4 separate regions of the Homo sapiens genome follow, and all the other regions are linked to region 2. The links are contacts of gene promoters, found by promoter capture Hi-C in blood cells and fetal thymus (Javierre and others, 2016). All regions are on one chromosome and are shown on one strand. Each heading gives the region's core, a stretch centred on a gene start or on the middle of the fragment in contact. The rest is flanking DNA. Distances are from core to core; before and after follow the strand shown.

Region 1 (6,398 bases), core at 1,998-4,497, 220 kb after region 2:
ACCCTGGCTAACACGCTGAAACCCCGTCTCTACTAAAAAAAAATACAAAAAAAAAAAAAAAAAATTAGCCGGGCATGGTGGCAGGCGCCTGTAGTCCCAGCTATTCGGGAGGCTGAGGCGGGAGAATGGCGTGAACCCGGGAGGCGGGGCTTGCAGTGAGCCGAGATCGCCCCACTGCACTCCAGCCTGGGTGACAGAGCGAGACTCCGTCTCAAAAAAAAAAAAAAAAGGAAGTCTCTATAAGGATTAGGTAGCCTCTAGAGCCCTCTATGATCTAGAACCTTTCAGGAGTCTGGCAGGAGTCTAGAGGTTTAGTCTGTGGAGCAACTGAACCAAAGGGGAGCCTTAAGAGAGAGAGCGAGCCACTGGAAGTCTACATATTGAACCATGAGACACACCCTTCTCTGTCCATTCCTACCCCAGCCCCCACAGTCTCCTTATCCTGGTGGCTAGGCTGCTCCCTCCCTAGGCATGCAAATGGGGGAATTTTCAGGAGAAACTAAACAGCCCCAGAGAAATGACCTAAAGTTGGGGCTTCCATTATGAAAAGCTACCAACGGACAAACCTCATACATAGATACAGAATTCAAATCAGTCTTTTAATACCTACCTCTTTGATGTGAATGGACAAAAAAGGATCACCAGACTTTTAAGGAAAGCCCGAAAATAAATGAGGGAGACGAAAAGAAAAAGAAAAAGAAAAAGACTAATAGAACATGTAACTCCCTTTGTTTCTGGGGTTTCCCACACTCTTCTCTTCCTTCTACCTCCCTGGCTGATCCTCTCCAATCACCTTTGCTGGATCTCCCTCACCTCCTTGACCTTTACATGTTGCAATGCCCAGGACACAAGGACCTCTTCTTTTCTCCATCTACACTCACTCTTTTAGTAAGCTTATCAGCCTCGTGGCCCTAAATATTCTTTATATGCAGTTGACTCCCAAATGTATATTTTTAGAGCAATTTATCTTCTGACTCCAGACTGTATATCTCTATGCGTACTCAGCCTCTCCACTTGGTGACCTTACAGGCACCTCAAAACTAATGTGTTCAAAATATATTACTGGCCGGGAGTGGTGGCTCATGCCTGTAATCAATCCCAGCACTTTGGGAGGCCAAGGTGGGCAGATCACCTGAGGTCAGGAGTTCGACACCCGTCTGGCCAACATGGTGAAACCCCGTCTCTACTAAAAATACAAAAATTAGCCCGGTGTGGCGGTGCATGCCTGTAATCCCAGATACTTGGGGGAGCTGAGGCAGGTGAATGCTTGAACTTGGGAGGCAGAGGTTGTAGTGAGCTGAGATCATGCCACTACACTTCAGCCTGGGCGACAGAGTAACACACTGTGTCAAAACAAAACAAAACAAAAACCCAAAATATATTACCAATCTTCTCTCCAAGAATCTGTATCTACTAAAGTCTCCCTCATCTTAATAAATGTCAACTTATTAATAATTTTTTTTGAGACAGAGTCTCTCTCTGTCCCCTAGGCTGGAGTGTAGTGGCACAATCTTGGCTCACTGCAACTTCCGCCTCCCAGGTTCAAGCAATTCTCCTTCCTCAGCCTCCTGAGTAGCTGGGATTACAGGCACACAGCACCATACCTGGCTAATTTTTTTGTATTTTTAGTAGAGATGGGGTTTCACCATGTTGGCCAGGCTGGTCTCGAACTCCTGACCTTGTGATCCATCCACCTCGGTCTCCCAAAGTGCTGGGATTACAGGCGTGAGCCACCGCGCCCGACCAATAAATAAATATTAATAAATATCTTTCCAGTCGCTCAAGCCAAAAATGTTATGTATTAGTTTGTTCCCCTAAAAGTGTTCAAGTAATTTATTTTAGAAGTACAGGGACCACTTGAAGGAGAGTGGGAAATGACATGTGGAAGGGACAGCAGCCAATAAAGGGTGTGTTATTAAGCCAGCTACCACTGATTGACTGGATCTCAGTCCTGCAGGGAAACTCCAGGAAATAGTGTAGAACACATGCCTCAGAATTATCCCACCTGAGGGAGAGAGAGCCAGGAGTATTTATACCTCAGCTCCTGAGAATCACTGGTTGAGGGCTTCCCCCAGGCAGGATAATTTTTCAGCACTTTCAGTCTAAGGTAGGAACCGTTAGAGTGGCTTTCCTTTTGTACTTCTGGCAAAGGCCTCAGGCTCAGAAATGCAGATGTCTGGGGCACTGACAGCACTGAAATTTTTGAATTATTTTTAATGCCTCCCCTTTTCTCATACCCCATATTTGGTCTGTTATCAAATTCTACCTTCAAAATGTAGTTAGATCTATAGTGACGACCTTCACTCAGGCCACCATCAACACTGAGCTGAAGCCAAGCACTAGTTGGCCTTGTGGTCTCCCTGCTTTCACTCTTGCTCCCTGGATAGTTTCCTAGGACTGTGTAACAAAGTACCAAAAACTAGGTGGCTTAAAACAACAGAAATATATTGTCAGACCGGGTGCTGTGGCTCACACCTGTAATTCCAGCACTTTGGGAGGCCGAGGCTGGTGGATCACCTGAGGTTGGGAGTTCAAGACCAGCCTGACCAACATAGAGAAACCCTGTCTCTACTAAAAATACAAAATTAGGCCGGGCGTGGTGGCCCATGCCTGTAATCCCAGCACTTTGGAAGGCCAAGGCGGGTAGATCACGACGTTAGGAGATCGGGACCATCCTGGCAAACGTGGTGAAACTCCGTCTCTGCTAAAATTACAAAAAATTAGTTGGGCATGGTGGCGCACGCCTGTAGTCCCAGCTACTTGGGAGGGTGAGGTGAGAGGATCACTTGAGCAGGGAGATAGAGGCTGCAGTGAGCCACTGTCATGCTACTGCATTCTAGCCTAGGCAACAGAGTGAGACCCTGTCTTAAAAAATAAAATGGTAGGCTGGATGCAGTGGGTCATGCATATAATCCCAGCACTTTGGTAAGCCAAGGCGGGTGGATCACTTGAGGTCAGGAGTTCGAGACCAGCCTGGCCAACATGGTGAAACCCTATCTCTGCTGAAAATACAAAAATTAGCCAGGTATGGTGGTGGGCACCTGTAATCCCAGCTACTCGGGAGGCTCAGGCACAGGAATAGCTTGAACCTGGGAGGCGGAGGTTGCAGTGAGCCGAGATGGGACTATGAACTTTTTTAAAGTATCATTTTTGTTCTTTGTAGTTTCGATTGCTGATTGCACACCTTTTCATGCCTTCTTATGTGAATTCCCATTTTTTCTACTGCATTGTTAATCTTTTACTATGGACTTGTAGTAACTATAGTTAATTTTATGACAGTTTTTGGGAGAAGTTTTAATTTTTCGTGTAATTAATATATTAGGTTTTTTTATGGTTTCTAAATTGTAGGTCTTGTTCAAAAATACCTCTCCTTCTGCTACCCTAAACTTGAAAATATTCTATATTTTCTACTATTATTTTATTATTTTATTTTATTATTATTTTATTATTTTGTTTTTGTTTAATCAAACTGGAATTTATTCTGTATATGATATAAAGAATGACTGGAACATATAATTTTTTCCAAACGGATAACCAGTTGTCCCAACAATATTTACTATAGTCATTCTTTTCCTTTCTAATGTGAAATGCCATGTTTATCATGTACTAAAGTCCACCAGGAAAGTAGGTAGGTATGTAGGTAGGTAGCTAGCTAGATAGATGGGTAGATAGATAATCTGGATTTGGAGATTTAACTGTTTTTTTATGTTTATTTAACTTAAGCCAAAAAATTCTATTTGAGTAATTATAGCTTTATTACACATTTTGATATCTGATAGGGTTTCTCCTCCTGCTTGGTTCATATTTTTGGCTATTTTAACATTTTTTGTCAGCTTGCTTAATTTCACTTTAAAAAACACATTAATAGATTAATTTGAGGATAAATGACTTTTTTTTTTTTTTTTTTTTTTTTTTGAGACGGAGTTTCACTCTTGTTGCCCAGGCTGGAGTGCAATGGCACGATCTCTGCTCACTGCAATCTCTGCCTCCCGGGTTCAAGCGATTCTCCTGCCTCAGCCTCCGGAGTTGCTGGGATCACAGGCATGAGACATCACGCCCATCTAATTTTGTATTTTTAGTATAGACGGGATTTAGCCGTGTTTGTCAGGCTGTTCTTGAACTCCTGACCTCAGGTGATCCGCCCATCTCAGCCTCCAAAAGAGGTGAGATTACAGGCGTGAGCCACCACACCCAGCAACATCTTTAAAAGAAGTGGCTTTCTATGTGTTATTTGGGTCTTATTTATATCTTAGAGTAAAACTGCACAATTTTATTCATGGAGGATTTTCACACTCTTAATTTATTTCTTGGTTCTTTATAAATTTTGCAGCAATTATGAATTGATATTCTTTAATGACATAGTCTAATAAATTATCATTGGTCATAGGAAAGCCATTGGTGTTTTGTTGTTGTTGTTGTTTTGAGATGGAGTCTCGCTCTGTCCCCCAGGCTGGAGTGCAGTGGTGCGATCTCAGCTCACTGCAACCTCCGCCTCCCAGGGTCAAGCAATTCTCCTGCCTCAGCCTCCTGAGTAGCTGGGATTACAGGTGCCCACCACCATGCCCAACGAATTTTTGTATTTTTAGTAGAGACGGGGTTTCACCATGTTGGCCAGGCTGGTCTCGAACTTCTGACCTCAGGTGATCCACTCACCTCAACCTCTCAAAGTGCTGAGATTACAGGCGTGAGCCACCGTGCCCGGCCAAGCTATTGATTTTTATACGGTAATTTTATATGGTAATTTTATACATAATCATTGTATTAACTGTCATTCATTCTAGTAATTTTCAGTTGATTCACTTGGAGTTTTTTCTTTTCTTTTTTTTTTTTTTTTTTTTTAGACAGGGTCACTGCAGCCTCTACCTTCCAAGCTCAAACAATCCTCCTGCCTCAGCCTCCTGAGTAGCTGGGACTATAGCTGTGTGCCATCATGCCCAAGTAATTTTCTGATGTTTTGTAGAGATGGGGGTCTCACTGTTGCCCAGCCTGATATCAAACTCCTGGGCTCAAGTGATCCGCCCCTCTTGGCCCCTCAAAGTGCTGGGATTACAGGCATGAGCCACTGTACCTGGCCTCTTTTTCTTTTCCTTTCTTTTCTTTTTCTATTTGTTTTGTTGTTGGTGGTGGTGTTGTTGAGACAGGGTCTTAGTCACCTAGGATGGAGTGCAGCAGCATGATCATAGCTCACTGCAGCCTTCAACTCTTAGGCTCAAGTGGTCCTCCAGCCTCAGCCTTCTGAGTAGATCGGACTACAGGAGTGCACCACCAAGCCTGGCTAAATTTTTTAAAAAATTTTTTATAGAGACAGAGTCTTGCTGTGTTGCTCAGGCTAGTGATTTGCTTGGATTTTCTAGGTAGCATCTTTAATCTTCAAGTCCAGCTACTGGGGACTTGTATTATCTCTTTTTAAAAATATTAATACGTCTTCTTTTACTTGTCCTTAGTCAATATAATGTTGACTAGTAAAGATGAAAAATTGGTATGTGTTTCTTGTTCTTTATTTTAGTGAGGTTTGCGGTTTGCCTTTTTTTGTGTGTGCGTGAGACGGAGTCTTGGTCTGTCACCCAGGCTGGAGTGCAGTGGCGCGATCTCGGCTCACTGCAAGCTTCGCCTCCCGGGTTCACGCCATTCTCCTGCCTCAGCCTCCCGAGTAGCTGGGACTACAGGCGCCCGCCAACACGCCCGGCTACTTTTTTGTATTCTTAGTAGAGACAGGGTCTCACTGTGTTAGCCAGGATGGTCTTGATCTCCCGACCTCGTGATCTGCCCACCTCGGCCTCCCAAAGTGCTGGGATTACAGGCGTGAGCCACCGCACCCGGCCGCGGTTTGCCATTTTTATTATAACATAATTTGGAGGATTGACCCTCATTTATGAGAAACATGCATGCATTATCCAATCAAGCTGTTTACTTAGAGATGCCTCATTCAGCAGATGGCAAGACATCATGGAAGAGATATTCTAGGTCTCATACAAATGTCCTGGTCAGGTGACCAAGATGTTAACAGTTTATATGAGGTGAGTTTCATGGAGACTAAGGGGCTGCCCAAATACTTTCTCAGTTACCCCTTATACCTTGTTCTTGCATGGGTAGGACAGCTTGTGCATATTACAGTAACATGTGCAACTTAGCAGGATGTATCTGTATTTAATGTAAAATATTTAATAGAATACATTTGTATTTAACATTTAGATACTTATTTAACCCTGAATTATTGCCTTTGTGGGATTCACAGTGTAGGCATTCCCTTATGGGAGACCTCCACTACAAACATAATGTTTGCTTTTGGTTTCTGGTAGATACTTTTTATTTTGTTTTGTTTATTTACTTATTTTTTTTATTTACGTATTTTCTTTTTTTTTTTCTTGAGACAGAGTCTCAGTTTGTTGCTCAGGCTG
Region 2 (6,073 bases), core at 3,497-5,996:
AACTGGAAGTGAAGAGGGGTAAAGAGAAGGGGAGTAGAACCAAGGATGACTCCCAGATTCCTGATCTGGGAGACTGAGTGGATAATGGGGCATTCACTGTCACTGGGAACACTGGGACAGAGACAGATTTGTGCATACCATACACAACTCAACTTGGTAAATGGCGAATTTGTGCTGCTCATGGTATATCCAAGGGGTAGTTGCTTTCTATGGTCTGGAGCTCAAGAAAAGTCTGGGCAAGTGACAGATTTGGGAGCTGTCAGTATAGAGGGTCCCTAAAGTCATGGGAGGGACTGAGATCATCTGGGGAAGTGAAAAGAGAAGAGAAAGGTCCCAAATAAAGTGACAGCCACCCATGGTCCCTGCTGTCAGGGTGCTCTCCCTCCCATAGTGGAGAAGTCAAACCCTGCAAAGCTTCCTAATACAAGGCAGACAGAGTTCTGTGCTTAAATGAGGTATGGTCAGAGAGTTCTGGCTTGCTCTTGGTATTTCAGCGGAGTGGGGAAAAGGGAGATCTGAGCTGCAGTTGTGAGATCTAACCACGAGATGGCGCCTTGGCATCTCCTTGTGCCAGATTTCCCCACCCTGCAAACACTCAGCCTGGCCTGGAGCAGGAGGTGATCAAAGGCTGGGAGGATGAGGGTGGCTGTGTCAACAATAAATGAGGCAGATCAGAGTTTTTTCTTAACATAAAATCCAAATGCAAGCTCACTTTTTGAAAAGAGAAGGAGCCTTGGAGAAAAGCAGTATGCCAAGTGTGCCAAATGGGAGTCCACGTATGTTTGAGCATGCAACTCTATGTCAATATATGTCCCATGTTCCTATGTGTACTTGTGTTTCCCATGAATGTCTCTGTGCAAGTTGTGTGCCCCATGTTCCCAAGGCTGTCTGCATGTGTACCCCACTGCACCCCAGGCCTCCACATGTGTGCATGTGTCCCAGGGAGCAGACAACCAGAAATCTCCACCTCCATGCCTCAGAGAGTGAGGAGTCCCTTGGCACTGAAAGAAGTAGTCCTGAGTCTGAAATCATGGGACTCTGATGTTTTAGGGAGACTCAAAGCAGCAGCAGACCATGGAGAACATCCCTCTCCCCAGTAGCCATAATCAAAATCACTCACTTATCAGATGATCTCTTCAGATTATACCTGGGTTCTATGTGTAGATACCCAGGATCATGTTCACATAGAGCCTTCCTAAAGGATCCCTTAATAGGCCAGTGGATTCATAACACCATCCATTGATGTGTTTATCATTTACAGTATTTAATAAGCATTCATTGAGTTCCTGCCATGCCCCAAGCACAGCGCTAGATACATTTTCTGTTTCTCCTTTAATCTTGTGAAGCAGTTCCTGAAAGAGGAAAAGTAAGTTAGTCACAACTGCAGAGTCTGGAATGCTCATTAGAATGTTTAAACTTTTTTTCCCCCGAAGATGGGTCATGGGGAGCCCTAGGAAAGTTTTCAGTAGGGAGGTAACATGGTCCAGTCACTCTTGTGGAAGTTGGAAATTGATCAGAAGAGATATGAATAAAGTCAGGAGACCAGTTAGAGAATTGTTGCAATGGCCTAGATAGTGGTTCTTAAACTTTAATGTGCCTCTGAGTCACCTTAAGGACTTATTAATAACACAGGTTGCTGGGCTCCACCCCCAGAGTTATTGACTCAGAAGGTCATGAGTGGGATCCAAGAATTGGGACTTCTAGCAAGCTCCCAGATATTGTTGGTGATGCTGGTCCAGGAACCACTCTTTGGCTGTGTTGCCCAGGCTGGTCTCAAACTCCTGGGCTCAAGGGACCACACTTTGAGAGCCACTGATCTATGAGTAAGAGTAAGGTAGTTTAAGGTGCTGAGACAGGGTGCCATGTGCCCTCTGGGATACCTGCCTCAATTCTCCACCACATACCTTCTGTGGGTGGATGTTTAAGGGTTAGAAATGGCAACACTCCATAAGGATTAGCTTGTGGGGGTTAAGGAAAGGACCTACGCTCTTCTGGGATGACTAGCAAGTTTTGAACTTGAAAAAGGGTGGTGTCATTTATGAAACTACAGAGCAAAGGAGAAGCAGGTTGGGGTTGGTGCTGGGGATAGAGGAGATGTTGAGTTCAGTGTTGGACTTGGAAAATTTCAGACAGCTGCAATGAGATGTCTGGAGAAAATACGCAGCTGGCAGCTGTGTCTATGGGTCTGGATCTCTCACTAGTGATTCAGGCCAGAGATAACACAGTTGGGAGATAACAGTAGACAGGTAGTCATTAAAGACTTGGGCCGGGCGTGGTGACTCATGCCTGTAATCCCAGCACTTTGGGAGGCTGAGGCGAGTGTTCACTTGAAGTCAGGAGTTCGAGATCAGCCTGGCTGACATGATGAAACCCTGTCTCTAGTAAAAATACAAAAGTTAGCCGGGCGTGGTGGTGGGCCCCTGTAATCCCAGTTACTCAGGAAACTGAGACATGAGAATCGCTTGAACCCGGGAGGTGGAGGTTGCAGTGAGCCGAGATTGTGCCACTGCACTCCAGCCCAAGCAACAGAGTGAGACTCTGTTATAAAAAAAAAAAAAAAAAAGACTTGAGAGGGGATGAGCTCACTCATGAAGAGTGCAGGAAGAAAAAGAAGCTTCTCTGCTCTGAGAAAGAATTACCGACATTAAGCATGTAGGTGAAAAGAGAAACAGAAAAGAAGACAGAAATGGTCGGAGTAGGACAATGAGGCAAAAAGGGGCTATCAAAGGTGTAGGAAGTAGATTGAGAAAACCCAAGGAAGCCACAGACAGGCAGCACATCCCGCCACTCTGGCCTTCCCAAGCTGCTGGAGAGAGCAGGGGCATCCCCGCAGCTGGGCACAGGCATCATCTCCTTTGCGGCTCCTAGACTTCTCCCAGAGGAGTTCATCAATTTCTATTCACGCACTGACACCTGTCCTGGAGCTTGACTTCTGATGCCCTGTGGCTGGGGTTGAGGGAGGGAGGAACAGGGCATTGCCACAGACTCCCTCATATATAGATACACACAAACACAATCCTGATCTCTGACCCATCTCGAGCAGGAAAGTTGCAAAGCTTCCCAATTCCGCTTCATCCTCTGGAACCTCGCTGGCGGTTCCAGACTTCAGAAAGTTCTTAATGATGAATCCTTGGCTTCTAGCCTCCTTCTTTCCCCACCACTCCCCAGGCTGAGATCATCCAGCCCTGAGCTCTGCACCTGCCATGTGCCTTCTGGGATACCCACTTGGAACCATATATTCCATGAGTTAATGGTGTCACTATCACCTCCTCTTCTATATCAATAATTTTACCTTAATCTTCTCATTTACTACTTCACTAAAAAGGGACCTAAAAAAACAACTAGTCTTCTCTGCCTTCCCCTACTTTTTTATTGGTGTTGTCGAAGTTGCAGAAACTGAGATCACAGAGGAAACGGGATGTAGCTAGGATCACACAGTTAGGCAGAGTCAGGACTAAATCCAAGCCCCTGAGTCTGAGGCAGTAGAGAATAGTGATTCTGAGCAGAGAGGGGCCAGGGGCAGATCACCCCAGCTCTGCCACTTAGCTGCTTGACCTTGGGCAAGCCATTTAACCTCTCCATGCCTCACCCCTCCCCTGAAAATGGGGATGATATGGGTATCTCTTTCATAGAGCTGCTGTGAGGGTTAAAGAACCCAATATTCGTGAAGCACTTTGCACAGAGGCTGGCACATTCTGTAATAAGTCTGCTGTGATTATTTCTACTTTGCCCTGGTCTGCACATCTTGCTTTTAAAAAACATCTTTCTTCTGCTTTCTTAATTCCTGTTCTCCTTAGCATTCCTCTCATTTGTCCATCTTTAATCCCTGTCTCTGCTTGTCAGGAGGGGAGGGTTGGGTTTGGGGAGAAAGAGAGAGTGACTACAGAGACTGGAACTTGCTTGACAGCCAGGGAGTGCCTGCCATGGTAACACAGGAACATGTAGCCTGCGCATGTTAGTGTAACAATCACACGGCATCCATGCTAGTCAGTTACACACAGTCACTCAACAGTCTCTGGGTATCTCATGCCCACACTCAATCAGCCCAGGACCCTGTGGCTTCAGAAATATCTTGGCCCCTTGTCAGGTGGAGCTCATACCCAAACCCATCCCAGGCAAGTCTCTCTCTCTGTCTGGCCAGCTTCTGTCTCCAACTCCCTCAGAGCCTGGCTTGGCTTGGAAGTTTTCAGCCCAGGAAGCCTGAGAGCGAAGTGGGCACCTTCGAGGGATTTTGATCCAGAACCATTCAGGAAAGACTGTGATGGTAGACCCCCTAAACACACGCACTGACACTGTGTGCGCATGAGCAGATAGGCTGGAGTCTTCAGCTCACAAACTTCTTCCACGTTCCCGATTACCCACCTCATCCAAAGTCTCTTGAGGTGCTTAGAGAAAGGATTGATACCTATTTTACCGAGGAAGCTGAGGCCAGCGAAGAATAGTGCTTTGCTTAAAGGCAAGGATGTGATAGAGCCAGGCAAATGTAGGGCCCTTGCGTCCCAGCCTCGAATATTTCTGTTTCACTGCAGCTGCGAGCTGCGAGCCCAGAAGGCGGCTCTGATCAATGTGGGCTGAATTCACGCCCCCTACCCACCCTACCCGATCCCGCCAAAGCCACTGCCTCCCCTGTGGCAGCCGCTGGGGAAAAGGGAGAGAACTGCCATAGCTTGTCTCTTTAATGCGCGCCCCCGGAGGCCCGGCGCGCCCCCGCCACTATAACTGGAGTGCATGGAGCAGGCTACGCTCAGAGGAGGAAGGGCGGGCGCTGGGCACCCGTTGACCGACTTTTCCAAGTGCGATCAGTGCCCGTCCGTCCTGCCTCCATGGACCCGCCCGGGAACGGCCACCGCTGAGGACCCCACGCCCACTAGGATCCCGGCTGGGTCGCACCCAGCTACCGCACCGTGACCTCCGCGGGCTGTGCCGGCTCCCGGCGCCTCTGCCCGCAGCGCTCGCCGTCGGGCTAGGGCTCCGCCGCCGCCACGCCTCGCGCCCGGCACTCACCGCCCCATGCTGGTGCACACCTACTCCGCCATGGTGAGTAGTCTCGGGCCCGGGACATATTCGGCCGGGGGATCGGGGCGCCTGAGTGCTGGACTTTCCAACCCTCCTGTCCCGCGCTAACGAAATCTCGGAGGGAGGGGGCCGCAGGGACTTCGCCAGCTGAGAACGCGATGCGCAAGTGACCGCTGTCCCCAGCCTGAGGCTCCTGCGCCCGCGGGTGGCTCGGAAATAAACCTCGGGCCCCAAGAAACGGGAGGGACTGCAGCTGAACCCTCCCGAGCTGAGGAGGATCCTTTCAGGCTGGGGTCCTTTCAGCTGCCAGTGGGTCACCTAAGGCACCCCTCTCCTTCCCCAGGAGCGCCCCGACGGGCTGGGAGCAGCTGCCGGCGGGGCCCGCCTGTCGTCTCTGCCCCAGGCGGCCTACGGGCCGGCGCCCCCGCTCTGCCACACGCCGGCCGCCACAGCTGCCGCCGAATTCCAGCCGCCCTACTTCCCGCCGCCCTACCCGCAGCCACCGCTGCCCTACGGTCAGGCGCCCGACGCCGCCGCAGCCTTTCCCCACCTGGCAGGGGACCCATATGGCGGCCTGGCGCCCCTGGCGCAGCCGCAGCCTCCTCAGGCCGCCTGGGCCGCGCCCCGCGCAGCCGCCCGCGCCCACGAGGAGCCTCCCGGCCTGCTGGCACCGCCCGCCCGCGCCCTGGGCCTTGACCCGCGCCGTGACTATGCCACTGCCGTGCCCCGGCTCCTGCACGGCCTGGCCGACGGCGCGCACGGCCTGGCAGACGCACCTCTCGGCCTTCCGGGGCTGGCGGCGGCCCCCGGTCTGGAGGACCTGCAGGTGAGACCCGAGGGATCCGGGATGGGTCGGGACTGGCCGCGGTGGTTTACTACCATGGCTGGAGGCAGAAGGTGACAAATGCAGGAAGCCGACTTTTCTCCCAGCTCGCCACATCTCACTGGTGACTCCGAGGATGTGTCCCACCTCCTGGGTTAGACGTTGCCTGGCCATCAAGGCTGCCTGGCACTGAGTCCGCCAGCAGTGCGTGGGTGGCAGCAACCCTCGGCAGGG
Region 3 (6,427 bases), core at 1,619-4,118, 240 kb after region 2:
CATATCACAAGATTATGAAGTATATTGGGAAGAAAAAGTGCTAGGCTAGGAGTTAGGAGATTTGGATTCTAGTTAGTATTTAAACTCAAAGTCGTATGTCCTTAAGCAAGTCATTTGATCCAAGTTTCTGTTTTCAAATTTCTATTATAAAGCTATATTTCTTACAACATTTTTTTTCTTTTTTTTTAAGACAAGTCTCATTCTGTCACCCTTGCTGGATTGCAGTGGCATGATCTCGGCTCACTGCAACCTGCACCTCCCAGGTTCAAGCTATTCCCCTGCCTCAGTCTCCCGAGTAGCTGGGATTACAGGTGCCCACCACCACACCTAGCTAATTTTTGTATTTTTAGTAGAGACGGTGTTTTGCCATGTTTGCCAGGCTGGTCTCAAACTTCTGACCTCAGGTGATCTGCCCGCTTCAGCCTTCCAAAGTGCTGGGATTACAGGCATGAGCCACTGTGCCTGGCCTCTTACAACTTTATGAATGATACAGTGATTGCTTAAGTGTATCTTGAAATATGCAGAGTTGACTTATTTTTATGATTTAATTGGGTTAATTCAGTATGTTTATCACCTCTCACATTATTTACTATTTACTTCTTACCTTGTTACCTTGTTTGTAATTGTCTTATCAATTGTATTGATAGGTCCTCTTGTACACTAGAAGTAGAACTCAACTCCAAGCAATAAGAATACTTTTAGTGGGCCGGGCGCAGTGGCTCACGCCTGTAATCCCAGCACTTTGGGAGGCCAAGGCAGGCAGATCACAAGGTCAGGAGATCAAGACCATCCTGGCTAAGATGGTGAAATCCTGTCTCTACTAAAAATACAAAAAATTAGCCGGGCATGGCAGCATGCGCCTGTAGTCCCAGCTGCTGGGGAGGCTGAGGCAGGAGAATGGCGTGAACCCGGGAGGCAGAGCTTGCAGTGAGCCAAGATTGTGCCACTGCACTCCAGCCTGGGTGACAGAGCGAGACTCCATCTCAAAAAAAAAAAAAAGAATACTTTTAGTATAAATTATGTGCTTTTGCTTCATTGAAAAATAATTGTCAGCTGGGCGTGGTGGCTCATGACTGTAATCCCAGCACTTTGGGAGGCCTAGGTGGGCAGATTGCTTGACCCCAGGAGTTCAAGACCAGCCTAGGCAACATGGCAAAACCCCAAACCTCGTCTCTACCAAAAATACAAAAATTAGCTGGGGTGGTATCTCAGTTACTCTGGAGGCTGAGGTGGGAGGATCAGTTGAGTCCAGGAGGTCGAGGCTGCAGTGAGCCATGATTGACCCACTGCACTCCAGCCTGGGCAACAGAGCAAGACCCTGGCTCAAAAAAAGAAAAAAAGAAGAAGAAGAAGAAGAGGAAGAGGAAGAAGGAAGAAGGAAGGAAGAAGGAAGAAGAAGAGAGACACTTTGGGAGGGCAAGGTGGGCGGATCACAAGGTCAGGAGTTTGAGACCAGCCTGGCCAATGTAGTGAAACCCCGTCTCTACTAAAAATACAAAAAATTAGCTGGGCATGGTGGCGGGTGCCTGTAATTCCAGCTACTTGGGAGGCTGAGGCAGGAGAATCTCTTGAACCCGGGAGGCGGAGGTTGCAGTAAGCCGAGATCGCACCACTGCCCTCCAGCCTGGGCAACAGTGTGAGACTCCATCTCAAAAAAAAAAAAGAGAGAGAAAGAGAAAGAAGAGAGAGAGAAAAAAGGAAGGAAGGAAGGAAAGAAGGAAGGACAGAAGGGAAGGAAGGAGAGAGAAAGAAAGATAATTATGATTTTTGTGTTTAGATTCTATCTGGGATTATTGATACTGTTCAGTTCAACATTTATTGAATTCTTATAACATGATGGCTGTTGCATTAGATATTGAGAAGATTAATAGGAGGTTCATTTCTTTTTTTTAAATTTTTTTTATTATACTTTAGGATACATATGCAGAATGTGCAGGTTTGTTACATATGTATACATGTGCCGTGTTGGTGTGCTGCACCCATTAACTCATCATTTACATTAGGTATATCTCCTAATGCTATCCCTCCCCCCTCCCCCTACCCCACAACAGGCCCCAGTGTGTGATGTTCCCCTTCCTGTGTCCAAGTGTTCTCATTGTTCAATTCCCATCTATGAGTGAGAACATGCGGTGTTTATAAGAGTTTGCAATCTAGTGAAGGAGACAGAGTAACTTAACAAGTGGTTTCTTATACTTGCTCTATGGGTTCCCCTATAGAGAGAGTCTTTTGAACACAGAGGACGGATCCTCTAGTCTGGGAGAATCAGGAAAGGCTTTCCAAGGAGGTTACATCTAAACCTAATTCTGAAGGATAAGTAGAATATAGTGGGAAAATGAATAATTAATATGTAAAATGATTTTTAATACTTTAAGTGTTAGAATATGGTGATCTGTAACCATAAATATCATAAAGTATTTGCTCTAATTTTCCTAAGTGATGTTGGAACAGAACAACTTCTTTTTGTTGTTGTTTTAGACTGAGTCTCCCTCTGTCGCCCAGGCTGGAGTGCAGTGACACAATCTCAGCTCACTGCAACCTCTGCCTCCCGGGTTCAAGCGATTCTCCTGCCTCAGCCTCCTGAGTAGCTGGGATTACAGGCATCCACCACCGTGCCCGGCTAATTTTTGTATTTTTAGTAGAGACGGGGTTTTACTATGCTGGCCAGGCTGGTCTCAAACTGCTGACCTCAGGTCATCTGCCTGCCTTGGCCTCCCGAAGTGCTGGGATTACAGGTGTGAGCCACCACGCCTGGCCCAGAACAACTTCTTGCTTCCAAGTTTTCTCTCCTTAGTGAAGTCTTTGTTCTCAGTGAAATGCCATTGCAGTAACAGAACCTGTTGTAACTTTCCATTGTAACCACAGCCCACTTTGCTCAGTGCCTATTCATAGCAGAAAAGATGTTCATTTTTTAGGCCAGTATCCACTTGATATTGTCATCAAAAAGGAGTAAGATTTTCTCTAAACGAGTGTCTCCCAGACTGTGCTCCACAAGATCTTTTTCTGCTGAGTATTAATAGATGTTCAAATCTTAGAGAGAGAGAGAGAGTTCTGTGGGGAAAAAAAACAGTTAGCTAAATGATGAGGTAAAGTTAACTAGGTTTATTTATTACATGACTTTTTAGATAATTTAATATGATAATATGCATTGAAATTTTAAGAGGGGAGAGAGTATGCAAGGTTTCTTTAACTTATAGAATCTTTTCTTTTTTGAAATAGTTTGGAAATATTACTCTATCTACATCAGGGTTTCTCAACCTCTTTCTCAGCACTATTGATATTTTGGACTGGGTAATTCTTTGTTGTGGGGGGCTATCTTATGCATTGTAGAATGCGTAGCTGTATCCTGGGTCCTTTCCACTAGATGCCAGCAGCACTTCTCAGGTTGTGACAACCAAAAATGTGTCCATATATTTGCCAAATGTTTCCTGGGGAACAAATTTGCCCCGGGTTGAGAACCACTGGTCTAGACTGTACATTCTTTGAAAGAAGGGGCTCTGTCTTCATTCTGAGTCCATAGTACAGGTTAGGCATGTTATAACTGAATAAATGAATAAATGTCTGTGGAATAAACTAGATCTTATGAGCAAGAAATCTCAGATTGTCCAGGTTCTAAAAATATCAAGTTATAAACGAGAAGGTCTAGCTTTATTGGTATTGTTTCACTATCGAAATTAGCAAATAAATTGATAAATAGAGCTGTGGTTTAATCTTCTCCTATATGTACAATTTATAATGATGCAGGCTAATTTGTGAGAGATTAGTAGGTCATTTCCAACTCTGGGGATGGTGGCTCCAGAGTTTAGAGATAGTTTTTAAAATGCATATAATTTTGTAAGTCTAGCTATAGAGCTTTACTAATGCTCATGCAAGATTTTATACTGTAGCCTATACTTGAGAGGAATTCATCATTCTAATTTTGATGTCCTTATGTTAAAAATAATAGCAACTTGGCAAAATATTTAGAAATCTAGAGAACCTTAGGTCGAAAGACACCCCAGATTCTTTATATTAGAGTACATACAGTGAATAATAAGATCTCAATAACTGTAGCCATCATCATCATCATCAAGAAGAAGAAGAATAAATAGCACAGCAGGCCAGGTGCGGTGGCTCACGCCTGTAATCCCAGCACTTTGGGAGGCTGAGGCAGGTGGATCACGAGGTCAGGAGTTCTAGACCAGCCTGGCCAATGTGGTGAAACCCTGTCTCTACTAAAAATACAAAAATTAGCCAGGCCTGGTGGCAGGCTCCTGTAATCCCAGCTACTGGAGAGGCTGAGGCAGGAGAATCGCTTGGAACTGGAAGGCAGAGGTTGCAGTGAGCCAAGATCAAGCCACTGCACTCCACCCTGGGTGAAAGAGCGAAACTCTGTCTCAAAAAAAAAAAAAAAAAAAAAAAGAAAGAAAGAAAGAAAAAGAAAAAAAAAATAGCACAGCAAATGTCTTTCAATCTCTTTAGGACCTCCGGCTAGCCTGTTTCAGCCACCTCGTCGTCCTGGCCTTGGAACTGTTGGAAAACCAATTCGACTGTTAGCCAATCATTTTCAGGTTCAGATTCCTAAAATAGATGTGTATCACTATGATGTGGATATTAAGCCTGAAAAACGGCCTCGTAGAGTCAACAGGTAAGGATTAGAAACAGTGGATTTCTGTATATTTAAGTGCATATAATTTATTTATGTATCATATTGTTCTCTAAATTCATCCAACATGTAGGCTTTGTTATTCTCTAAGATGATAGGTTTCTTAATAGCAGGTTTGCTGTCTCATGCTTGGTTATCCTCTGTAGGCTCTAGCAAAGTGCTGGATATATTATTAGTCAATCAGTAAACACTTATTTAATTATGGAAAAGAAAGGTCGCTCTTTCATTGACCAAGGGTAGCAAAAATTTACTAAAATAGGTGAAGACATTAGTGTCTGTGGGAAATAGAACTATCTGGAAATTCAATTTTTATTATTATATGTTGGTTTTGGACATGAGAAAGATGTATATATATATATATATCAATACAGAAGATTACTTGCAGATTTTTTCTTGGGGGAAAAGAAAGAAAAGTCATCTTGGAGTACTGAGAAAACTAAGCACAGAGAGAAGCTCTAGTTATTTCTAGCATTATCTAAGAGTGGTCCTGATGAGATGATGTAAGTATTGTGGTCTGTATAGCAGGAATTTACCTGGTGTGAAGACAGCCCTGTAGCAAATATTCTTACAGTGTGCTGAGTATACATCCACTTTTGTTTTCTCTGTTTCTATGCAGTGACATTCAGGCAATATTTGATATTAAGATTCTTGCTTTTTTAAGATTGCTCTTTGCTGTCAAGTTAAATATTTTGTGCCGCTTGATATTTTTCTCATTATGGATCAAAATTTGGCTTTCTGGTGTAGTTCATTCTCTTGTAAACCCATTATTGGCTATTGTGTAACTGAGATCAATAGTAGTAGAAGTGGTGGTAATGGATAACATTGATCCATCCAACGAATATTTTATTGAATGTTTATTTTGTGCCAGGTATTGCCCTGTGCTCTGGGAATTCACCATGAACAAAACAGGCAAAAGTTTCTACCTTTGAGGAGCGTATATTCTAATGGGGAAGACCAACAATAAATGAAGAAGCAAACAAAACATGTATTTTATTAGTTGGTAATAAATGCAATAAAGAAAAAGAAAATAGAGATGGAAGATAGGAAATGGGGATAGGATGAGCACTGAGATTTATATATGAATGAATATATATGTTTATATATACATATACATGCATATGTAGATATACACACACGTATGTATATGTATATACGTATGCAAATACCTAGAGAAAGTCTCACTGAAAAGTGATATTTGACCTAGAGGAGGTGAGGGATATCTGCATGAAGAGTGTCCCAGGCAAAGTCAGAAGCTTGGTGAGTTCAAGAAACAGCAGGCCGGGCGTGATGGCTCATGCCTGTAATCCCAGCACTTTGGGAGGCTGAGGCGGGCAGATCACTTGAGGTCAGGAGTTCGAGACCAGCCTGGCCAACATGGTGAAACCCTGTCTCTATTAAAAATACAAAAATTAGCTGGGCATAGTGGCACGTGCCTGTAATCCCAGCTACTTGGGAGGCTGAGGCAGGAGAATCACTTGAATCTGGGAGACGGAGGTTGCAGTGAGTGGAGATCATGCCGCTGCATTCCAGCCTGGGCAACAGAGGGAGACTCTGTCTCAAAAAGAAAGAAAGAAAGAAAGAAAGAAAGAAAGAAAGGAAGAAAGGAAGGAAGGAAGGAAGGAAGGAAGGAAGGAAGGAAAGAAACAAACAGCAGATAATTCTGGATTGCTGGAGTGAGTGAGTGGGGGAGAGTGATAGGAGATGAGGTTGGAGAAATTTCAGAAGGCCTCTATCATGCAGAACTTGTAGGCATTCATAACACTTTGTCATTTATTCTGGTTAGGT
Region 4 (6,445 bases), core at 244-2,743, 180 kb after region 2:
TGAGCTAATGATATGAACTGGCAGTTCACGAAAAATAAACATATATTGTTAATAAATTAAAAGTAATGCTTAATCTCACTTCTAATTGAAGAGCTACAAATCAAAATAACGAGATACATTTTCGACATGTTAGCCTGGCAAAAATTAGAAGGTTTGATAATACCTATTGAGAGGAAACAGGAACTCATACACTGTGATTCAGAGTGGTACAACCATTCTGAAAGACAACTGGATGATATATATCAAAATGTGATATATATCATGACAATTCCACTGTAAGGAATTTTCATCTAATATACCACCATATATCTGGCACTATAATATAACACTGTATGCAATAGCAACAACTGGAACAAACAAGACATCTGTCAATACGAGTATGGTTTAATGAGTCATGTTGTATTCATTCAATGGAATATTATGCAGCCATTTTAAAAAAAGCCTCAAGGCCGGGCGCAGTGACTCACGCCTGTAATCCCAGCACTTTGCGGGGCCAAGGTGGGCAGATCACGAGGTCAGGAGTTCGAGACCAGCCTGGCCAACATAGCGAAACTTCATCTCTACTAAAAATACAAAAATTAGCCAGGCATGGTGGCAGGCACCTGTAATCCCAGCTATTCGGGAGGCTGAGGCAGGAGAATCACTTGAACCCAGGAGGTAGAGGTTGCAGTGAGCTAAGATCGTGCCATTGCACTCCAGCCAGGGTGACAGTGCAGGACTCTGTCTTAGAGGAAAAAAAAAAAAAAAAAAAAAAGCCTCAAAAGCAATATAAAGTAGATCTGAGCTCTGGAGTTAGGTGGTCTGGATTAGACTACTGGTCCTACCATTTATTAGCTGTGTAAACTTGAGCAAGTGTCTTAAGTGCTCTGCATATCAGTTTCTTCATATACAAAATAAGGATACTAATGTTATTTACCTCATAGGGTTGTAAGGATTAAATGAGATAAAACATATAAAGCACCTAGAGCAATGCCTGACAGGGAGTAAATGTTCAATGTCACACACATTCACAAAATACGGTATATGGATAAAAATACTCCTATAAAGACATACAAGAAATTGTTAATAGTTATCTTTGGGAAGACTAGTTTTTCATTTGATACCTTTTTTCAGTGTTTAAAACTGTTTTCCATGTGATATATTACTTGTGATTTCAAGGGAGGGGTGAGAGCTGTCCTTAATACATTTCTAAAACACAAAGCAGAATGCATGTTATGATCACATTATAGGTGGGTTGTTTTGTTTTGGGTTTTTTGTTTTGAGACAGGGTCTCACTCTCTCGCCTAGGCTGGAGTGCAGTGCCACAATCATGACTCATTACAACCTCAACCTCCTGGCTCAAATGATCCTCCTGTCTCAGCCTCCCAAGTATCTGGGGCCACAGGTGCAGGCCACCATGCCTGGATAATTTTTTTTTTTTGGTAGAGATGAGGGCTCACTATGTTGCCCAGGCTGGTCTCCAACTCCTGAGCTCAACAGATCCTCCTGCCTTGTCCTTCCAAAGTGCTAGGATTACAGGCATGTGCCACTGCACCCAGCCTGTTTTTGTTTAAATTACATATACATATGTGCAAAGAAGAGAGTTTAAAAGGATACACGATATGGTTATAGAACCTGTCTCTGATAGAAGATTAAGTTTTTCATTTATTCTATATATTTGTCTATAATGGGGTTTTTTATAATAAGACAAATGATATCTAAAAAAAAAATAAAGCCAGCTTGTCCACCCCACACCTCTAGGTGTGCTACACGTGAATCATGCCAGAGATACTGCTCTGCAAAGCCTCCAAGGAAAAAGATTCTATAACTTTTCATTATAAGGTTTTCAATAGCCTTGAAGATCTGTTAGAATACAAAGCAAAAAGCAAAAAACAAAACCTGTGGGCTCAAATACCTGGTTTTGTGTGGCTTGCTCCATCCAACTTCTTAGGTGCTAAAGTCACAGGTACCACATCTGCTTTTAGCTCTTCCTTTCCATCAGTGCCCATGTCTTTCACTATGACGTTCACATTCACTGTCTGACCAGCCCTGGGTTTGGCTGCTGGATTAGCATGCTTCCAGAAACGCTGCTTCAAGGCTTCCAGTTCTAAACCCAAACGCCAACCAGTGTGTCAGTTTGCCATGCTCAAAACTCTTTCCTTTAAGACTTATAAGCTAAGTTTTTTTTAGCTCAACAATTATGAGGGAAACCACACATACACAGAGAAACCAAAAACCCCTTGCTACTAACTCCTGAGTCAAATTCATACAACTTAACCCAAACTAATTGACTGCCACAACTGTTCTTCCTCAACGTTTCAAAAATCAGACTTTAAAAAATCAGACAGAAATTTATACCTGAAATTTCTAAATATGTGCAATTCTTTTGAACATTCTTTAAAAATTCTTTAAAAGTATTAAACTGGTAGGAAAAAAGATTATAATCTCATCTATTCAAGGGCTTAATTTTTCATGGGTTTTGGTCTCCTTTTAAAATTCCCTATTTGTTATTGCTGTTTTTTGTTTTTGTTTTGAGATGCAGTCTCACTCTATTGCCCAGGCTGGAGTGCAGTGATGTGATCTCAGCTCACTGCAACCTCCATCTCCAGGGTTCAAGCGATTCTCCTGCCTCAGTCTCCTGAGTAGCTGAGGTTACAGGTGAGCACCACCATGCCCAGCTAATTTTTTTGTATTTTTAGTAGAGACAGGGTTTCACCATGTTAGCCAGGCTGGTCTCGAACTCCTGACCTCAAATGATCAGCCCACCTTGGCCTCCCAAAGTGCTGGGATCAAATTCCCTATTTTGAATGTTTCATTATTGGCAATCTTACTAAATATAGGCAAAGTCAATTTTTTTCAAGAAGGGAAAATAAAATGACAATCCAGTCAGTGATATAACTAAGCAGCAGGACTGTAAAAAGTTTTTTGGTGAAAACTGTTACACTAGTACAATTGGTACAATGAGAAAGAAAATACTGCAGCCCCAGTACCACATGCTCAACTTGTATACAAACGGAAATATATATATACTGGGAACAGTAAGTTCAGCAATCCAATAGTGATATAAACTTACCCCTCTTCCCCACTGCAATATCTTAGAATTTCCTTCTCCCTCAGCTAGCTGTTACCTGGAACCAATCCCTACTCACTCTGCTTAACACTTCATATCATAATGGAATCTGTGATGAGAGCTGGCAGTTTTAAGGAGAAAGTTCCTTTGGAGTTGATGCACACTGGATATTTTCAGGCGGCCTTCTCGTCCATGATAAAATGGTTTATTTTTAAATGGAGTCTCGCTTTGTCGCCCAGGCTGGAGTGCAGTGGTGCAATCTTGGCTCTCACTGTAGCCTCAATCTCCCCAAGCTTAGAGGTGATCCTCTCACCTCAGCCTCCTGAGATAGCCAGGACTATAGGCATGTACCACCATATCCAGCTAATTTTTTTTTTTTTTTTTTGAGACGGAGTCTCACTCTGTTGCCCAGGCCAAAGTGCAGTGGCATGATCTCGGCTCACTGTAACCTCCACCTCCTGGGTTCAAGCAATTCTCCTGCCTCAGCCTCCCTAGAAGCTGGGATTACAGGCATGCGTCACCACACCCAGCTAATTTTTTTATTTTTATTTTTAGTAGAGATGGGGTTTCACCATGTTGGCCAGGCTGGTCTTGAACTCCTGATCTCAGATGATCCACCCACCTCGGCCTCCCAAAGTGCTGAGATTACAGGAGTGAGCCACTGCGACTGGCCGATTTTTGTATTTTTTGTAGAGACCGGTTTTGCCATGTTGTCCAGGCTGGTCTTGAACTCCTGGACTGAAATGATCCACCCTCCTCAGCCTCCCAAAGTGCTAGGGTTACAGGTGTGAGCCATTGTGCCCAGCCACTTTTCATTTGTCTTTTTAGAGACAGGGTCTTGCTCTGTTGCTCAGGCTGGAGTGCAGTGGTGCGATCACAGCTCACTGCAACCTTGACCTCCTGGGTTTAAGCATTCCTCCTACCTCACCCTCCCAAGTAGCTAGGACTACAGGTGCATGTCACCACATCTGGCTTTGTTATTTTTTGTAAAGACAGGAACTCGCTATGTTGCCCAAGCTGGTCTCAAACACCTGGCCTCAAAGCGAACTTCCCACCTTAGTCTCCCAAAGTGCTGGGACTATAGGCATGAAACTTGACTAATTTTCTAAAATGCACTCAAATCATACTTCGGTGTTTTTGTGACTAGCATCTAGATGTGTTTTTTTCCTCTAGACGGTCTTACTAGAAAAAGAGAAAAATGAAGGAAATCTTTTTATCCTGAAACCCCAACATTATTAGCAGCAAAAACCCAACTCTAAAGGATGGTATGTTTACATTGCAAACAAAAGAGTAGAGAGACAAGCTGTAAGTCTGCCTCCTATTTTGCAGTGGTTCAGTAAAGCTGAAAGCAACAGGTGGTAGCAGGGAAAAGGGAACAGAAATAGGCAGGTTATTATGGGTGCCACTAGGGTAAGAGAAATGGTTGGGTGGGAAGATTACCTGGGACTTAAAATAGTAGTCAGGCAAGAGGTATCTTCATTCATAACTGGAGAAAGCTAGGATCCTCAAAGCTCTTCCTCCCCCAACCCATTGGAGCAACCACTTTCTTTGGCCTTTATTACATGATGCAACCATCACTGTCTTCATCCTAAAACCCCTGTTCAAGTTCCTCTACCTCCATTCATCTCTATTAGTCCATCACCTCTCATCCTCCATCACCTCTCATCTCCTCTCTTAAGTGAAAAGTCTCTTTCCTAGCTTATCTCTATCAGCAGCATAAGAACTGTTCTCATTCACATTGCTCTTGTCCAGAAAGTAGAGGAATTAGAGGCAGGGATTATTCCATATGCTATTGCAAGCAACAGAAATAATGTATTTCTGACATCACAAAATTTAAATTTACATGCATTTTCTCATGGAAACCTTATTCTATATGAGGTAAAGAAACTGAGCTGTTCCCACTGTTTTTACTCTTAACCCCTTCCAATGCATCCACCACAACAGCTACCAGATTTAACTTCCTAAAGTGAGTATCTGATTGAACATTTCCTTTGCTGAAAACCTTTCAGTGGTCCTCTACTTACAAAGAGCTAAAGTCCAAGCTCCTAGCATGGCATAAAAACCCTGAATGATCTGGGCTCTGATCACCAATGTCCTTGCTATCTTCACTTCAGCCAGGGAGATCACCCTGTGCTTTCCATTGTCTCTGACATCTGCAGGTCCAACCCCTCCACCAAAAAAGCCCTCCCTCACCTCTCTGCCTTGGTATCTCTACTGAGCTCATTTCAGAAACTTCCCTGACTTCTAGGCTCCAAGTAAGGTACCCTTCCTCTAGGTTCCCAATGCACCCTCAATTATATACCTTGATCGCAGCACTTACCATCCAGTATTGTAATGGTCTGTTTGCCTGTCTATCACTCCTATTACACTTCAATTTCTTTGAGAGCAGGGAGTGTTTTACGTGTATACACAGCACCCAACACAGTGCTAAATAAAAGTTTATTGCATGAATGAATGAATGAATGTTGATTCTAACTTCATGTATATTATGGCTGGTCTGGAAACCCAAATTTCGTGTCAATTATTTCTAAAGGAAAACATGTTCCAAGTTAAAAAATAAGTGCTCATTATATGCCAGCCACTGTGTAGGTCCCTTTATAAGCCAAGTATAATGCTGGAAAAATTACCTAACCTCTCTGAGCCTCAGTCTCTTCATTTTGCAAAATAATACCTGGCACTGTGAGAATTAAGAAAGACAACTAACAAAGAATGTACCAGTGTCTAATATAGTTGGTACTCAAAAAATGTTTCTCCCTTTCCTATCAGTCTAGGACTGTTTAGGTAACTTTTAGTCCCATATAACAAAAACTTTCCCTCAGTGTTCCGGACAACAGCTTATTCTCATGCTTCTTTGCTAATGGAGCTATGCTAGTTCTGTTATACAACTCTGCCACCTGAACCTCCAGCCCTGGTCAAAGTGACTTTCACATCTTCCCAATACGCACCACCATGCAGAGTTCTTTCTGTCCTTCTCTCCATCTCCAAAGTCAACCCATTCAATTATCAGACTCACTAAGCATATTTTACACACCAGATACAGTGGCTGACATAGCACTTGCCAACAATAAGCTGTTTAATGAAACAGAATCTTTTTTGTGTGTGTTTTGTTTTTCTTTTTGTTTTAATGAGACAAGGTGCTCTTTCTATCCTCTCCATCTCCAAAGTCAACCCATTCAATTAACAGACTCACTGAGCATATTTTACACACCAGATATAGTCACTGACATAGCACCTGCCAACAATAAGATGTTTAATGAAAGATAATTTTTTTGTGTTTTTTTTTTTTTTATGAGACAGGGTCTCGTTCTGTCTCCCAGACTGGAGTGCAGGAGTGCAATTTCAGCTCACAACTCACTGCAGCTTTGACCTCCTGGGCTCAAGCAATCCTCCCACCTC

Evidence for each region. Contacts are between HindIII fragments. The CHiCAGO score rates a contact against its expected background, and 5 or more counts as called.
Region 1: a fragment that was not itself captured here is called in contact with the fragment with the promoter of TFAP2E in region 2 in 2 of 17 cell types (endothelial precursors and M1 macrophages); the score reaches 6.7 in endothelial precursors.
Region 3: a contact is called between a fragment that was not itself captured here and the fragment with the promoter of TFAP2E in region 2, in 1 of 17 cell types (non-activated CD4 T cells). The highest score is 6.3, in non-activated CD4 T cells.
Region 4: a contact is called between a fragment that was not itself captured here and the fragment with the promoter of TFAP2E in region 2, in 4 of 17 cell types (M0 macrophages, endothelial precursors, naive CD8 T cells and 1 more). The highest score is 6.1, in M0 macrophages.

What each region holds. Positions count from the first base shown.
Region 1 is chr1:35,787,435-35,793,832 of GRCh38, forward strand. The region is part of intron 2 of CLSPN-DT (CLSPN divergent transcript); the gene reads left to right. Among named protein-coding and RNA genes, the nearest start is that of AGO4, 17 kb to the right of the region's middle. The HindIII fragment of the contact is 4,712 bases long and covers 892-5,603 here.
Region 2 is chr1:35,568,568-35,574,640 of GRCh38, forward strand. TFAP2E (transcription factor AP-2 epsilon) reads left to right here and starts at 4,747. Exons shown (of 7, transcript NM_178548.4): 1 at 4,747-5,037; 2 at 5,360-5,842. The coding sequence starts at 5,011. TFAP2E-AS1 (TFAP2E antisense RNA 1) reads right to left here. Exons shown (of 3, transcript NR_183387.1): 2 at 5,793-6,073; 3 at 1,244-1,352. RefSeq lists a silencer at 1,650-1,751 and enhancers at 4,711-5,210, 5,452-6,073. The HindIII fragment of the contact is 6,124 bases long and covers 3,055-6,073 here.
Region 3 is chr1:35,812,424-35,818,850 of GRCh38, forward strand. AGO4 (argonaute RISC component 4) reads left to right here. Exons shown (of 18, transcript NM_017629.4): 2 at 4,459-4,624. Among named protein-coding and RNA genes, the nearest start is that of AGO4, 7.6 kb to the left of the region's middle. The HindIII fragment of the contact is 6,049 bases long and covers 1-5,893 here.
Region 4 is chr1:35,751,851-35,758,295 of GRCh38, forward strand. CLSPN (claspin) reads right to left here. Exons shown (of 25, transcript NM_022111.4): 9 at 1,895-2,086. Among named protein-coding and RNA genes, the nearest start is that of CLSPN, 15 kb to the right of the region's middle. The HindIII fragment of the contact is 3,694 bases long and covers 1-3,340 here.